5 separate regions of the Homo sapiens genome follow, and all the other regions are linked to region 3. The links are contacts of gene promoters, found by promoter capture Hi-C in blood cells and fetal thymus (Javierre and others, 2016). All regions are on one chromosome and are shown on one strand. The core of a region is centred on a gene start or on the middle of the fragment in contact, and the rest is flanking DNA. Distances in the headings are between cores, read along the strand shown. Region 1 overlaps KCNJ1 (potassium inwardly rectifying channel subfamily J member 1). Region 2 overlaps ETS1 (ETS proto-oncogene 1, transcription factor). Region 3 holds the start of FLI1 (Fli-1 proto-oncogene, ETS transcription factor). Region 4 overlaps ETS1 (ETS proto-oncogene 1, transcription factor). Region 5 has its middle 32 kb from the start of KCNJ1.

The links. Contacts are between HindIII fragments. The CHiCAGO score rates a contact against its expected background, and 5 or more counts as called.
Region 1: a fragment that was not itself captured here is called in contact with the fragment with the promoter of FLI1 in region 3 in 1 of 17 cell types (megakaryocytes); the score reaches 7.4 in megakaryocytes.
Region 2: a contact is called between a fragment that was not itself captured here and the fragment with the promoter of FLI1 in region 3, in 5 of 17 cell types (activated CD4 T cells, total CD4 T cells, total B cells and 2 more). The highest score is 7.9, in activated CD4 T cells.
Region 4: a contact is called between a fragment that was not itself captured here and the fragment with the promoter of FLI1 in region 3, in 5 of 17 cell types (total B cells, activated CD4 T cells, naive B cells and 2 more). The highest score is 7.8, in total B cells.
Region 5: a contact is called between a fragment that was not itself captured here and the fragment with the promoter of FLI1 in region 3, in 1 of 17 cell types (megakaryocytes). The highest score is 6.6, in megakaryocytes.

Annotation. Positions count from the first base shown.
Region 1 is chr11:128,854,123-128,856,822 of GRCh38, reverse strand. The region is part of intron 1 of KCNJ1 (potassium inwardly rectifying channel subfamily J member 1); the gene reads left to right. Among named protein-coding and RNA genes, the nearest start is that of KCNJ1, 12 kb to the left of the region's middle. The HindIII fragment of the contact is 4,573 bases long and covers 1-2,700 here.
Region 2 is chr11:128,498,726-128,501,425 of GRCh38, reverse strand. The region is part of intron 3 of ETS1 (ETS proto-oncogene 1, transcription factor); the gene reads left to right. Among named protein-coding and RNA genes, the nearest start is that of MIR6090, 22 kb to the left of the region's middle. The HindIII fragment of the contact is 2,499 bases long and covers 121-2,619 here.
Region 3 is chr11:128,692,638-128,695,361 of GRCh38, reverse strand. It overlaps FLI1 (Fli-1 proto-oncogene, ETS transcription factor), which reads right to left and starts at 1,290. Exons shown (of 9, transcript NM_002017.5): 1 at 1,086-1,290. The coding sequence starts at 1,103. It overlaps SENCR (smooth muscle and endothelial cell enriched migration/differentiation-associated lncRNA), which reads left to right. Exons shown (of 3, transcript NR_038908.1): 2 at 1,971-2,707. RefSeq lists silencers at 259-388, 439-658, 699-748, 969-1,338, 2,022-2,161 and 1 more and a cis regulatory region at 1,070-1,802. The HindIII fragment of the contact is 9,137 bases long and covers 1-2,724 here.
Region 4 is chr11:128,462,107-128,464,838 of GRCh38, reverse strand. ETS1 (ETS proto-oncogene 1, transcription factor) reads left to right here. Exons shown (of 10, transcript NM_001143820.2): 9 at 1,212-1,330; 10 at 2,263-2,732. The coding sequence ends at 2,478. Among named protein-coding and RNA genes, the nearest start is that of MIR6090, 59 kb to the left of the region's middle. The HindIII fragment of the contact is 2,577 bases long and covers 160-2,732 here.
Region 5 is chr11:128,833,593-128,836,292 of GRCh38, reverse strand. No RefSeq gene overlaps it. Among named protein-coding and RNA genes, the nearest start is that of KCNJ1, 32 kb to the left of the region's middle. The HindIII fragment of the contact is 2,695 bases long and covers 41-2,700 here.

The DNA.
Region 1 (2,700 bases), core at 36-2,535, 160 kb before region 3:
AGGAGATGAAGAGAAGAGGACAGACAGGTCCTGACTATATTGTGTAGAAAGAGCAGACAAGATTTGCTGATGGATTGCGTGTGAGGTGAGAGGAAGAAAAGAATTAAGGGTGAATCAAGGTTTTGCTTGACTCGGGGGTGGGTGTGCCATTGACAGGGCTGAGGATGATCTGAATTGAACAAAACCAACATGAAATCAGTTGTATTCAGTGCTAAGAAGGAAAAGAAGATGGTGCTAGGACATTTTTTTAGAGTAGGAATTTCAGTCCAAGATGCCTATGCCCAGATGTGCTGTCCCAGCGTACATCACATGTGGAGCTGCCCCTCCCCTGCTCCCTCTTCTGCGGTCCTCTCTCTGCCCTGCACTCTGAGGGTGCACATGCACCTCTCACCCCAGCCTGGTGGCCATGGTACCTGCAACCCTGGCCAAGAGCTTCCAGAGAAAGGATCACGCCAGGCATCCATCACCAAGCCCTGTGCCCTGGTTGCCTCCGGGTCTGGAAGGCTGGTCGTGCTAACCTCAGAGGAAATTCAGTTGGTCTGGCACAATTGCATCCTTCTCGTCTAACCTAATCTCATCATTCCATGGGCAATCTTTTTCTCTCTGATCCACAGCCTTTCACCACTTCATTAATTTGTCCCTAGCAGCCGGATAAACAGTCTTCTCCCTCTGGGCCTCATGTACACAAAGATGCTTCTGACAGGCCCCTTGAAAGCAGCTCAGAGCCTGCTGTCTTTTCCCGCCCGGAAGTTCTGGTGGGAGAACCTTCTTTAAGAGGCTCCAGGAGGGGATGAGGGGAGGGAGAAAGAAGACTTCCCAAGACCTGGCAAGAGCCCCGAGCAGGACTATGCATCCTTCCTGCATTTCCTCTGCAGCTCACACAGGCACAGTGGTACCGTCCTTGGGTCTGGCAGGTGAGAGCTGCCTGCCCAAATCCAGACCTGGGAGTTAAAACTGATTTCCCCAAGTGCCAACTCAGCCTTTGGCTGTCCCAGTCCTGATCTCTTCATCAGAGCCCCTCAGCCCTGCTAAACAAGGAAGGAGCCTGGCATTTATTGTGGCTTTCCCCATACCAGATCCTCTACTGGGCCTTCCCACACTTAATCCTATCTCAGCATTGGGAAACAGATTTCCTTATTTCCATGTTCATGGAGGAGAACGTTCAGGTTTAGAGAAGCCAAATAACTCACTCTGATAACAAGTGGAAGAGGTGACGTTTAAGCCCAGCTCTACACCGCCTTATAGCCTATCCCCTCACTATTTTCAAGGCACCTGTGGAGCCCCATCTTTGCTTTGCCAACCTCATTTGCTGCCTCTTTGCAATAATGTCTTCAATCTTAATGCTGATCACAGCTTGGACCTCACACCCTCTGGGTGCCAGGGAGCCAGCATTTTGGTTAGTACTAAGCCCAGTTGTCAATCTCATCACAATTCCTAGAGGGCTTCCTTCTATCCTCTTTTCTCCATCTGCTCCAGTGAAGCTCAGGGGACCTTGGCAAGGTGGGAAAGGTCAGGACTCAAATGATGTTGGGGAAAAAGAATAAACCCATCACTGAAAATGGGTACAATTATTGGAAATGTGGGAGGGTAAGAAAAGTGAATCAGGAAGACAGTATGTCCAAAACAACAAAAAAGAAAAGAAAAGGAAAGAAAAACCGTAAACAGCTCACAATGAGCTCCAGGGTTTTTACTGCTCCTTACGTTTCTTAGCAACTATTTTTTGTTTGTTTTCCAGGCTTAATCGATTACATTGAGAAATTAGCTCTGTAAAATCCCCAGGTGAGCTGCTGGGTCATGCACCAGTAAGCTGCAGAGCTGGAATTCAAGCCTGACTCCAGATACGTGTTTCAAGGCCAGAGACTCAGTGGGGAGCCTGCACGTGCGCTCCAGCTAGACCACCTTGTTTCTTTTCATAGGAGTTAGTACTCATAGCACACCAGGGGCTTCAGTTTCTTTCCCCAAACCCATCGTGCATCTATGATACTTAAGAAGATCTAGGTTTGGCCCTGCAGGTGTGTCATCAAACAGATCATTACGATTTGTGCTAATCCAGATTAGGATGTTGAGAGGTGGTGGTTGGGGACATTCTTTGTAGCTCTTGATAGTGGCCCTTATTCAGGAAGTACGCAAGGAACATCCAGCCCTGCCTTTGAGAAAGGGCCCAGCCTCTGGACATGCACAGTGGGAGGTTTCTGTCATTCTCCCGTGAGTCCTTGAATGTAGACTCAACACAACTCTGTGCCCTGTTGTCACCCAAGAAAGCAGCAAGGTCCCCATCCCAGTCACGTTCCATCCCTCTCTCTCCTTGGTGTATGTGGTGTGGGGTGGGGAGCAGAGGTAAGTAGTGGCACGGGGGAAATGTGGGGCAAGGCGGGGTTTTGAATGGGCCCGTGGGCCTCTGGCTTGTCTGCGAGGTCATGCTGAGTCTCTGGAGGGGCTGGCTCAAATGGGAATTGGAACATCCGCGCTGCTGACTCCAGGAATACAACAAGGGCTATGGGCAAGGAATAAAATGCTCAAAAACATTCAAACAAAAGATGTGCTGAAAGAAGGAGAAAGAGGGAGAAAAGAAACCGAGCTCCCAGGAGAGCCGAGAGAAGGAGCTCTTGCTTGGCTGGTGCAGTAGGAGGGACCCTGTGAGTTTCCTCCCATCCCACAGACCTGCCCTCTGGCACTGGGAGGTGTGAGGGACTTCACCCT
Region 2 (2,700 bases), core at 121-2,620, 190 kb after region 3:
AATAGGTACAGAACTGGTTCAGTATCACTTTCTATGGAGAGGTCCTGGCAATGTCCTTTGAGTGGCTTTTGTAGTTAGGCTGTTAGATCAGTGTTGTCTTAGTCTGCACCAGTCAAAGCTTATGGAGTAAGATGATCATCTCATTGTTCCCATTTAACTTCTGAGAAGCACGATGTTCACCTATGAATGCTTGTGATGCTCTTCAGGAACATAGGCTTAGAGGAATGCTTCTAGGTGGAGCGAGGGGAGTGGCCAAAAACCATGCCAACATGAATGGTTGAAGGAACCACGGAGTTTGGAAACCTGGACGGAAGTGATGATAGGAGGAAGAAAGCAGGGGAAAAGCTGCCAGATAAGGACAAATTTGCTTTGTGCTGCTGATCTCTCAACAAGCAAAGCAAGGGCCTATTGATAGAATTCATAAGAAGGCAGATTTAAACTCGTTGTGTCTAATCATTTTTAAATAATCATTTTGGCTTATAAGTGAAATTGTGTAGCTCAAAAAGGATGGGGCAACCAAATGTCTTAAGTGAGAAGACTTCTGGGGAAGTATGGTGGTCGTTCTTCAGGTCCTGCCCTGCCCCTCATGACCACTCATCATCAAGTACTCCTCTGTGGATCTGGAAGCTGGAGCAGGGTGTGCACGCATACTGTGTTGCTTCAGTGCCTGTGGCTGCCAATATTGAGAATCCTTGTCTGATGTACTGGGAAAATGGACTTGCGTATTCTTATTTTTCATTGTGGTTTCCCTGGGTTGAAAACAGACAGTTGCACTGTGTGAATGTGTATGAGTATGCTTTTTCCTTCTCAGTCCAGATTTATTTATTAAAAGAAAAACACATCTGCATAAAAAAGCCTTAGAACGCAGGAAGAATGTCCACTTTGTTTTTCTTTCTGTAGCACCGAGACATGTGGGGTTTCAGCTTCCTCTAAGAAGTTTTTGAAGACTGGCTTTCATCTCAAACAAGACTTTTTCCCATTGGAAAAACGGTCCTTTTTTGGTTTAAAAATGTATTTATATAATGTATAAATAAATAAGAAAGTTGAGAGAGAATTTCCTTTCAAAATTGATGAAAAAATGTTGCTTTCTGAACATCATTAATTGGGAGTCGGTTGTTGCCTCTTCCCAGGCCATTGCCACTCTGCATTCTGTTTCTTTGTTCTGGTTTACAATTTTCCAATATTCCCTTTCTCTGCTTCCTGCTTTCTTCCCTCTCTCCTCCCTTCTTGGCCAGCTCTCCTCCTCTGTCTGATCCCAGCTCCAGCCTTCTCCCTTGGCGGCTACCCCCATGGCCACTGCACCACCTTCCTAGCCCCCGTTCCTCCTTCCTTTCTCTAAGCCTTTCTTCCTTCTGCCCTTCCCGGGCTAACTTTGAACAACTGAAGCCCTCACTGGAAGAGGCCTGTCTCTGTGTTTGTTTCCTGCGTGGGAGGGAGAGGCAGGCCTTGAGAAAACAGTTCAAAAGTGCAGAAAAACTTTACCTCTTCCAGCCTAAATAAACGGGCTCTACTCCATTTGTTTGCCCAGATTTTTCATTTGCCCATGGAGAAAACTCCTCATCGTACACCTTGCCCAGCCTGGCCTTCTTGGTGATTCTCAGCACCACTCTCCCGATGCCTGTTTTACCCCCCGACCAAGTGCCAAGTGGGCCCCGAGCCGAGGTTTGACCAGGCCAGTTCTGGGTAGGACGTGCAATGGAGCCTGCTGTCGGTAGAGAGTCTCGGGGATTGAGGTTCTTCCCTGCTACAGAAAGAGCTTTTTCTAGAATGAAAATGTTGGAGAAAATGAAAAAAGAAATGTTATCATGCCCCATCATTTTTGCCTCATTTGCTTTTAATTCTGTGAATAGGTGCAGGGAGAAAACACGTGGCTTGCGTGTCTGAAGATGTGGGATTGAATCCTTGTTATATCACTTTACTGGTTTGATAATCTTAGTTAAGTCACTTAAGAAACATTTGTGAGCCTCAGTTTCCTCACCTACATGATAAAGATAATAACTACAAGTGCTTGTTTTGAAAAATCATATGAGAATATTCAAGAAAATGCTTTCTAAAAGATACAGTTCTAGTCAAATAGCAGGAATGATAATTATAGGTGGGAGTTAAGTGAAATTAAAATAAATTGGTTAGCCCAATTCATCAGCATCTGCAAGATCTCAGAGGATGAGGCCTCAAAGGCTATTATGTAAACCAGAATTAGTGGAAGCTGGGATTATAGCAAGATGTAGTTGTCAGATATTCTCCATTGTCTTCCTGGATGGGGTTATCCTATGTCATGTTGGTACCAAAAGCCGTATGATCCTGTCATGAGAATTTTAGTGAAGGCAGGGCAGGAGTTTTCCTCATTCAGAAGTGTAAGATGTGGGAAGAACCAATAGGATGCAATGTGGTTCTCTGCAAAGCCATGGAGACGAAAGAGCCCAACTCATTCTTTCCTCCTGAGTAATGTAGAGACCATGGCTCTGTGTTTTTCAGATAAAGAAGTCACACTGTTCTGGGACATTTAGGAACTATAAAGTATGTCATGTGGTGGGAGTCAGGTGTAATTATCTATGCAGGAAATGCTTTGAAACATGTGAAGTACTTTGTAAATGGCTTGAAATGATCATTTAAGAAGCTTAAATGATTCTTTAATGTACCCTATGGAGGTGGTCCTTGCACACAGGAATCATAATCTCAATAGCTAAAACTTCCTTTTAA
Region 3 (2,724 bases), core at 41-2,540:
AACCCCTGGTCCCATTCATTCCCCTAGGTCCTCTAAGGCCCGTCACGTTAGGGGGTGTCCCTCCTCTCTGCTCCTGGCCCTACTTGGCGAACCCTTTCAGAGACAGCAGTCAACTTTTCTGAAGTGAGACGCGAACCCAAACCCTCACCTTTCCGCCTGGGTTGCACTTTGCAACCTAGACCCAGGCTTGGCGGCGGCGGCTGGGGTGGGAATGGCCGGGCGGGCGCGGGGCGCGGGCTCACAGCCGGCCCCTGCAACGGAGGCGGCTCCGAAGGACGCAGGACCCTTTCGGAGGCGACAGCTCCAGGAGCCCTGGTCCTGGAGCCGGCGCACGCCTAGGCGCGAAGGGCGGGGGCTCGGGGCGCTAGGGATCTGTGCGGACGGGGGCTGGGGAAGGTTCCCCGCCGGAGAGGCGGCGAGGCCGGCCCAGGAGTCCCGCGGAGCCGGCGGCTCTCCAGCGCCTAGAGCCGGGCGACTGAGTGCCGAGAGGAAGGGAAAGCGCTGACATGTAAACAGGGGCTTCCATCTGGAGGAGCCCGCTCAGATAGATCCCCCGACACACTCACTTGCACCCCTACCCTCGTGCAACGAGGCCACTTACCCACCCCAGGGCCCACCAGGCAGGGACCCGAGCCCGGGCGACTGCAGCCCCCGCCCCCGCCGTGTTCCGCCTCTGCGGAGAGGAAGCCCAGTGCCTAGCGCTGGGGCCACGGGAGCCCCGGGTGTCGGTGGGAGTGGTGGACCCCGAGGTCTCTCGCCCTTGACTCCGTTCCGTACCCTGGGGTCCCCCGGTTTCCCGCCGTCCCCTCCTGCAGCCCCGGCGGGCAGCGAGGTGGGAGGGGGGCCGGGGCTCCACTTTGGGGGCTGGGATTTCGGGGGAGGGTCGCCCTCAATGCGGGCGCCTGGCCGGCTGGCCCGCGAGTAGGACTCGCCACCCGAGCGCCGGAGGAGCCGGCGCGAAGCCGGGGCGCGGAGGGAAGGGAGAGAGGCCACGTCTTCCGGGACGCGGGCCCCGCACCTACCCGCCCGCCGCTTCGCCTCCCCGGCCGGTCCCCGCCGCCCGCGTCCGTTGCCCCGCCGCTTACCTTAATAGTCCCGTCCATTTGGCCAAGTCTGCAGCCGAGCCCCCCAATATTCCACACATTGACCCGGTTACAGCCTGACCTCGCAGCCCCTTCGGATTAGCCCGGCGCGGCCTCCCTGGCGCCCTGGGCCCTCCCTGCGTGCCCCCTGCGAGCGCCCTGCCCTCACTCCCCTGTGCACGTTTGTTGTTGTAGCGGAGCGAAAGAGACAGTTAACCGGATGAAACTTTTTTTTCAGCTAATTTTGGGAAGTGACTTCACTTTGCGAATCGGGGAGGAAGTCCTATCTCTCTCTCTCTCTCTCTCTCTCTCTCTCTCTCTCTCTCTCTCTCTCTCTCGCCTCGAGCTCTCCTCTCTCTTCTCTCCCCTCTGCTCTCCCTCGTCTTCCCTCCCCCCCCACACCCCCTCTTCCTCCCCTGCTGGTCCTGCTTTTCGCATCACACACTATATAAATATACGCGGAGATGCCCAGACACATTCATGCGCTGCGCACACAGGATACTTGCTCCTGGGAGATAAGAGCTAGCCGGGAACAATGACGGGGTCCACGCCCAGCGTCCGCGCCCTGATTCCCGAAGTCTGAACCTCCCCCCATCACCTTCCCCCAAAATCCAAAGCCAAAGACCTTTGGCTTCTTTGCTTTTCCTGAGGCGGTTGGCCGAAGGTGGCCCTCCTGACTCATTCACTTTCCGTTTCTTCCCACAGATACGTTCATTAATGCTTTTTCCAGCCGGAGACAAACTTTTTGGGGGTGGGGTAGGGGGGGTATGGAGGGAGAGTTGGCTAGGGCTGCGGGTAACCCAGCGCCTACTGCCGGGGAAGACTCGGACGAAAACCGAGGCAAACCAACCATTAAAAAGTGCATCCAATAAGAATTTTTCCACTCAGGCCCTCCGCTGCCGAGACGCGGCAGACTCCCAGAGCGGCTCACCCACTCATCGAAGCGGATTCTGGGCGGTTTCGGGCTGACCCGCGCTGTCAGGGCGCGGACTCCATTCCGGGCGCATTGTTAGGAGAAGGGGCCCCTCGGGGCGGCGCGCCTCGACCCTGGGCTCCCGGTGCCCGCAGAGGGCGGAGATCCGCGGCGCCCTAGGCCACCTATCCGCATCTTCTCGAGCCAAACCCCCAGCGCTTACCCGGACCCGACGGCCCAAGCACTGACTCCCAGGCAAGAGTCGCCCTTCCTGGTCCCCAGGGAACTGACACTACCGCGGGACGTTCCCTCTAGGACAGTCAGCAGGTCCCAGGAGCGCAGCACGCAACAGCGCAGAGCAGACCCAGACTTTTCCCGGGGTGAGACCCGGAGGCCCGCGCTCTGGACCGTCCTCCCTACCCAGCCTGGAGGCCGGCGTTCCCCGGCCCAACCCGGAGACCTCCCCGCCTCCCTCCTGGGCCGCCGCGCGCCCCAGTTGGAGCAGCCTCGAGGGGCTGGGCCCTTTCGGCCGGACTCCCTTCTCCCGGACATCCAAAACAGGTTACCTTGTCCACGCTCTCCGGACCACGCTTTGGACTTGCTCACTTTTATTTAAGAGTCCGACGGGGGAAAGAGGGAAAAAAAATCCAGAGGAGATCCAAGTCAATTGGAAGAAAAAATTTCAAAAGGGTGTCCACAGAGGCGAAAAAAGGTGACTTATTAATTCTT
Region 4 (2,732 bases), core at 199-2,698, 230 kb after region 3:
ATGAGATACAACAAGACATTACCCTTATGGATTATGAAGGCAATTTCTTTTTTAGATTGAGAGGGAACTTAAAGTTTGTTTCCTGTTAAATCTCAGTTTACTTTGGATCAGACAAATTTGCAACTCCGGTGAAAAATTAGAGCCTTAGTGAGCAAAGCTTTCCTGTAGGAGCTGGTGCTTCCTGGGCTGTATCCAGAGACATGGACTGGGTCTTTCCCAGTCCCGCTCTGCCCAGTTTGTTTATGTTATAAGGGGCAGTGTAACAAGAAGCATGGACTTTTGAACCCCTATTTGTCTCTCCACCGACACCTATAAATTAAGAATCACTGGTGGCATTGTCATTTCAGATGAGAAAAGTATCCTCAAAGGAAATCGGTGTGATATAAACCTTTTAGCATAGAATAAATTGACTGTCAGAGTGTTGATGGCTAAGACAGAGAAGTGTGTGTGTGTGTGTGTGTGTGTGTGTGTGTGTGTGTGTGTCTAATTTAGAATATACTGAACCTATGCAGAATTTCTGACAGTCCTCATCTGACCCCTGAGGATTTTCTGGGTGGCACGTTAATTCCTCAAATAGTAATGATGCTTTTTTTTTTTTTTCCTTTGGGTGCTTTCCTGTAAGTGGACTGGAAGGGCAGGGTGGTGGCAGTGGAGAGAAATATTATGACTGAACAGATATTTAACATCTATTTCCTTGTAAGAGGGCCGGAGGATAGTGATCCTTCTTACTCACAAATCAGGGGCCACAGGCTCCCTACTACAGAGCAGTGCTTATGAGCCATAACTTGTGTTTGGAACTGGCAAAGACATTCATTCCTTCGTTAATATGTTTCTTACTTCTGAAGGCAAAAATAATGACTTAGTTTTTGCAGGTGTAAAAGATTATGCTGCCTTAGAATATCCCAGAGGATAGGCACAGTGTTCTCTTTCTAGAATTTGTTTAGCAATAAAAATGAACCGATCCTTAAGTTAATCAAAATAAAGCACTTGACACATTTTCTTCCATGCTTTTGTTTTATAGGGAGGCCTTTGTCTTTTCTATCTGTTCGAGCTCATAACACTTCCTCCGACATGTGCACTGTCTGTTGCCTTCATTTTCTCCTGGCTGGATGGGCTGAGAGAAGAGGGATGTGGGAGTGCCGTGTGTGGGGATTAGCTGCGTAGAGTGCTGAATATCTGGTGTAATGATTCACAATGGCTTGTGTTTCTAGGCAGTGGACCAATCCAGCTATGGCAGTTTCTTCTGGAATTACTCACTGATAAATCCTGTCAGTCTTTTATCAGCTGGACAGGAGATGGCTGGGAATTCAAACTTTCTGACCCAGATGAGGTAAGGAAGGAGGGGCTTGCGAGTACTGTGTTGAGGAAGGATGAGAGAAAACTCCTGGAAGGGGTGGCGTGGGCCTGAATGACGTGTTCCAGGATTGGGATTCCCAGCTCTGCCACTTGCCACCCGGAGCAAGCTAGGTAGCCTGTCTGAGCTCCAGGTTCATTATTTGGAAAATAGAGAAAAGATCTATGTTACCCCATTTGTCTTACAGGATTAGCTGATAGAAGGCATTAACGTGCCTGGCAGTAGGTCAGTTATCACCCATAGAGCTGCCTCCTGTGACTTAGCCTCTTCCTAGCCCGGTGGCTCTGTGAGTGTGAAAGGGGCCAGACAGTTCAAGAGGCCTTGGGAGATTGGCTCATTAGTTTCTTATTTCATTACACACATGTTTATGGAGTAGTGGTTCCGTGCCATGCCCAATTCTGAGGATAAAAAACAATGAACAGGAGAGACAACATCTTTGTTCTGGCAGACATGAGAAAATATTTGTGCCCTGGTATGGAAAAAAAACACTTCCTGTTGATGAAAGGCAGGTATGATTGCAGCTCAGCTCCTCCGCTTCACACTTCCCTGTTAGATTTCATGCTTGCAAAGCAAGGAGATTTTACTAATAATATGCGGAAAGAGGAGAATGTATAGTGTGGCTTTTTGTTTGTTTTTTAAAGTCACATATTTAATCCTAGTTCAGGGTCACTGTGTTTTCATCAACTTAAAGAATCATTGTGACTCCCATCCTTGCCCAACCCATGAAAAATGGAATTCAGGAGATAGGCCCGAAAAATATTTTCTATATCTACATGAATCTCAAATCATCTTACTTGAGCATCATGGGTCACCATGAATGGGTATAGCATAGGCATAGAAACATATATATTTGGCCTGTCTTGTAGATTTTTGCCTACTCCTCCTTTATTTTTCTTTTTAAATTTCAGGTGGCCAGGAGATGGGGAAAGAGGAAAAACAAACCTAAGATGAATTATGAGAAACTGAGCCGTGGCCTACGCTACTATTACGACAAAAACATCATCCACAAGACAGCGGGGAAACGCTACGTGTACCGCTTTGTGTGTGACCTGCAGAGCCTGCTGGGGTACACCCCTGAGGAGCTGCACGCCATGCTGGACGTCAAGCCAGATGCCGACGAGTGATGGCACTGAAGGGGCTGGGGAAACCCTGCTGAGACCTTCCAAGGACAGCCGTGTTGGTTGGACTCTGAATTTTGAATTGTTATTCTATTTTTTATTTTCCAGAACTCATTTTTTACCTTCAGGGGTGGGAGCTAAGTCAGTTGCAGCTGTAATCAATTGTGCGCAGTTGGGAAAGGAAAGCCAGGACTTGTGGGGTGGGTGGGACCAGAAATTCTTGAGCAAATTTTCAGGAGAGGGAGAAGGGCCTTCTCAGA
Region 5 (2,700 bases), core at 139-2,638, 140 kb before region 3:
TGTTGCCTGCCATTACAGGAAGTGTGTGTCAATCAAAGCTTGACAGGGGAGATAGAGCATTTTATTTTGGAAGCCAGAAGTTTGAGAACAATGACTGGAATTTCCTCTTTCTGTCCGGCAAGGGCTGTTTGTCATTGGGGAGATAAAAGTCCAGGGGCAGGGAATAAAGGTTATCGGGAACTGCGCAAGGCAGAGCCGTGGGGGGTGGGAGGAGGGGTTATGGAGGAAATCTATTTCAATGCCTGTCATTAAGTTTCCATTAAAAGAACATTCAGTTAGGAATTCAAAAATAATTTAATCTCCCCAGCCAGATGCACCCAGCTGGACTCCTTGGAGCTGAGCCCCTTGGAGAGGGAGATTTGCACCACCGGTTGCAGGGGCCAGGAGCTGGGGTGCGTCTCTACCCAGCGCACTCTCGACTGCTTGGGTGTTCTGGAAGACATCGGTATCCTTCAGACAAGTGGGAAACCCCAAGGCTTGTGCAGTGGCAGAAGAAAGTTATTTACTAGGAGTTATTTACTACGTTGTTACCATGTCCGAGGTTCTGTTTACAGCATTTTATATGCAGTCCCTCATGTAATTTTCCCAACAATCCTATGAGGTCAAGACTATGATTATACCTTTATTCCACTTGAGGCAGCTAAGGTAAGGAAGGTGTCCAGAGACATTACCTGGAAAATGGCAGGGCTGGCATGCAAACCCCGGGCAGTCCGCTTTGAAAGCCCATGAGTTTAAAATCCCTCGTCGACATCCTAGGAGGGACCATCCTCTGAGCAGATTCCCCAGGGCCATCGCACACTTCCCTGAAACCCACGGATGACTGGCGCATGCTCTTGGGATGCGTCTTATACTTTGGGAGAAACCACTCATTGCTCAGCACAAGACAGAGCCCTGGCGAGTGCTGAACGAACATCTCTGGAATTGCAGGTTCTAGGAAAAGGCAGTCTTTTCCCATGAGCTCTAGGTCATCCACCAGGTCAGTATACGGAAGTATCATGGGTGTCCTGAAGATTTGATTAGCCCATTGGTGCAAAGTATCTTCCTAATACTAATACACATACTTCTCTCTCTAAATATACACAAACACTAAATATATATACTAATTATATATATATAATTAAAAACTATGTGTGTGCATATGTATGTATACACATACACACACACATATTTATATTTCAGTCTTTGATGTAGAGGCAGATATTATTTCCATTTTGACATGGGAAGTGGAGCCTCCATTCTCCCTGGAGAACAGCCCCTGTGTTCTCTACTCACCTCTGTATTCCTAGCACCAGCAGAGTTCCTCACACAATCCATACATGGTTATAATGAATAAAATAAACCAATGAATGATTTGCTCAAGGTCTACATGGCTAGTAGTGGATTCAAACCCACATCTGTCCAATGAGCTTTTGACTGACCTATGTCATTGACCAGTCATTAGTCAAGGGGCCTGGAAAAATGACTTAACTTCATTAAGCCCCAGTTTCTTTATTTGTAGAATGGAGTTTTGTAATAGAGTTAAGGAGGGGATTCAATGAAATAATGGATGTGAAAAATCCATCTGTTGAAAGTAAATGGCTGTGCATATGGCAACATGAGGTGGGAGCAATGGGTTTGAAGGTGAGGAATGAAGGGGAGGACACTGGTCCCAGAGCAAACCCTGCGCCTGGTGCTTCAAGGGCAAAGAAAGCAGAGCCCAGGGCAGGGCCTGATGGAGACCAGTGGAGGCCTGGGGGACAAGAACAGTGCCTGCAGGGGTCTGTCCCAGCTGGGATAGGCTATGAGTTGGGGGGATTTGAGTAGAATCCTGGTGCTTTGGGTTTGTCTTCAATTCAAGAGATGCTTATTTTGGGTTTACTGTGAGCCAGGCACTGGGGAGGCAAAAAAGAGGAAGCAAGGGTCCTGCCTACTGCAGAAAAGATCCCAGAGCTCCAGCCAGTTCAGAGGACGAGAGTTAAACTGGAAAACTGCTGATGTCGGGGAGAATCTTTTTATTGTCTTATGCCATGTGCTTATAATAGTTTCAGCAAAAACAATATTGACTCCACTGCTAACAATAAGACTATTGATTACAGTCTTAAAAGTATTTGGGATTAAACATTTTTAAATCATCCATCCTATAGATATTCTTTATATAACAATGTACAATCAACACAGTGATAAAGTCACTTGAAGTAGTTCTTTTCTCCGTGTGATTAGGTACCAACTGGACATAGGTTCATTTGTTTCCATTTATTTGCAATCGTTAAAGTCTGTTTATTGTTTTCCTTTTTTGATTTCGCCATTTCTTTTATGAATTATGCAAGGAATTTATATAATTTCAAAACCACAGAACAGGGTTTAGAAAACATGCTTCCATTCCTGTGCCCTCCACTCTATTTCTTCCCGTTCTATAAAGGGTAAGCATCTTTATTATGTTGTATCCTGTGGCGGTTTCTTTGTGAAAGATGTAAGCAATGCATATGTGACATGTTAGTATTTACATGCTGCTCCATTCTTACACAAAAGGTAACACTCTAGAAACACCATTCTGCAGGGTTTTCTTCACCTAATAGAATGTTCTGCAGATCACTGTGTAGGGATAAGTGCTGATAATACCAACATCTATGCGACACCCTCCCTCACCTTCGTGGGTGCTCTTGCAGTAGTTGCTGGGATCTTGCTCCAGAGGCCCCTGCTGTGCAGTTTTGAGCCTGAGAG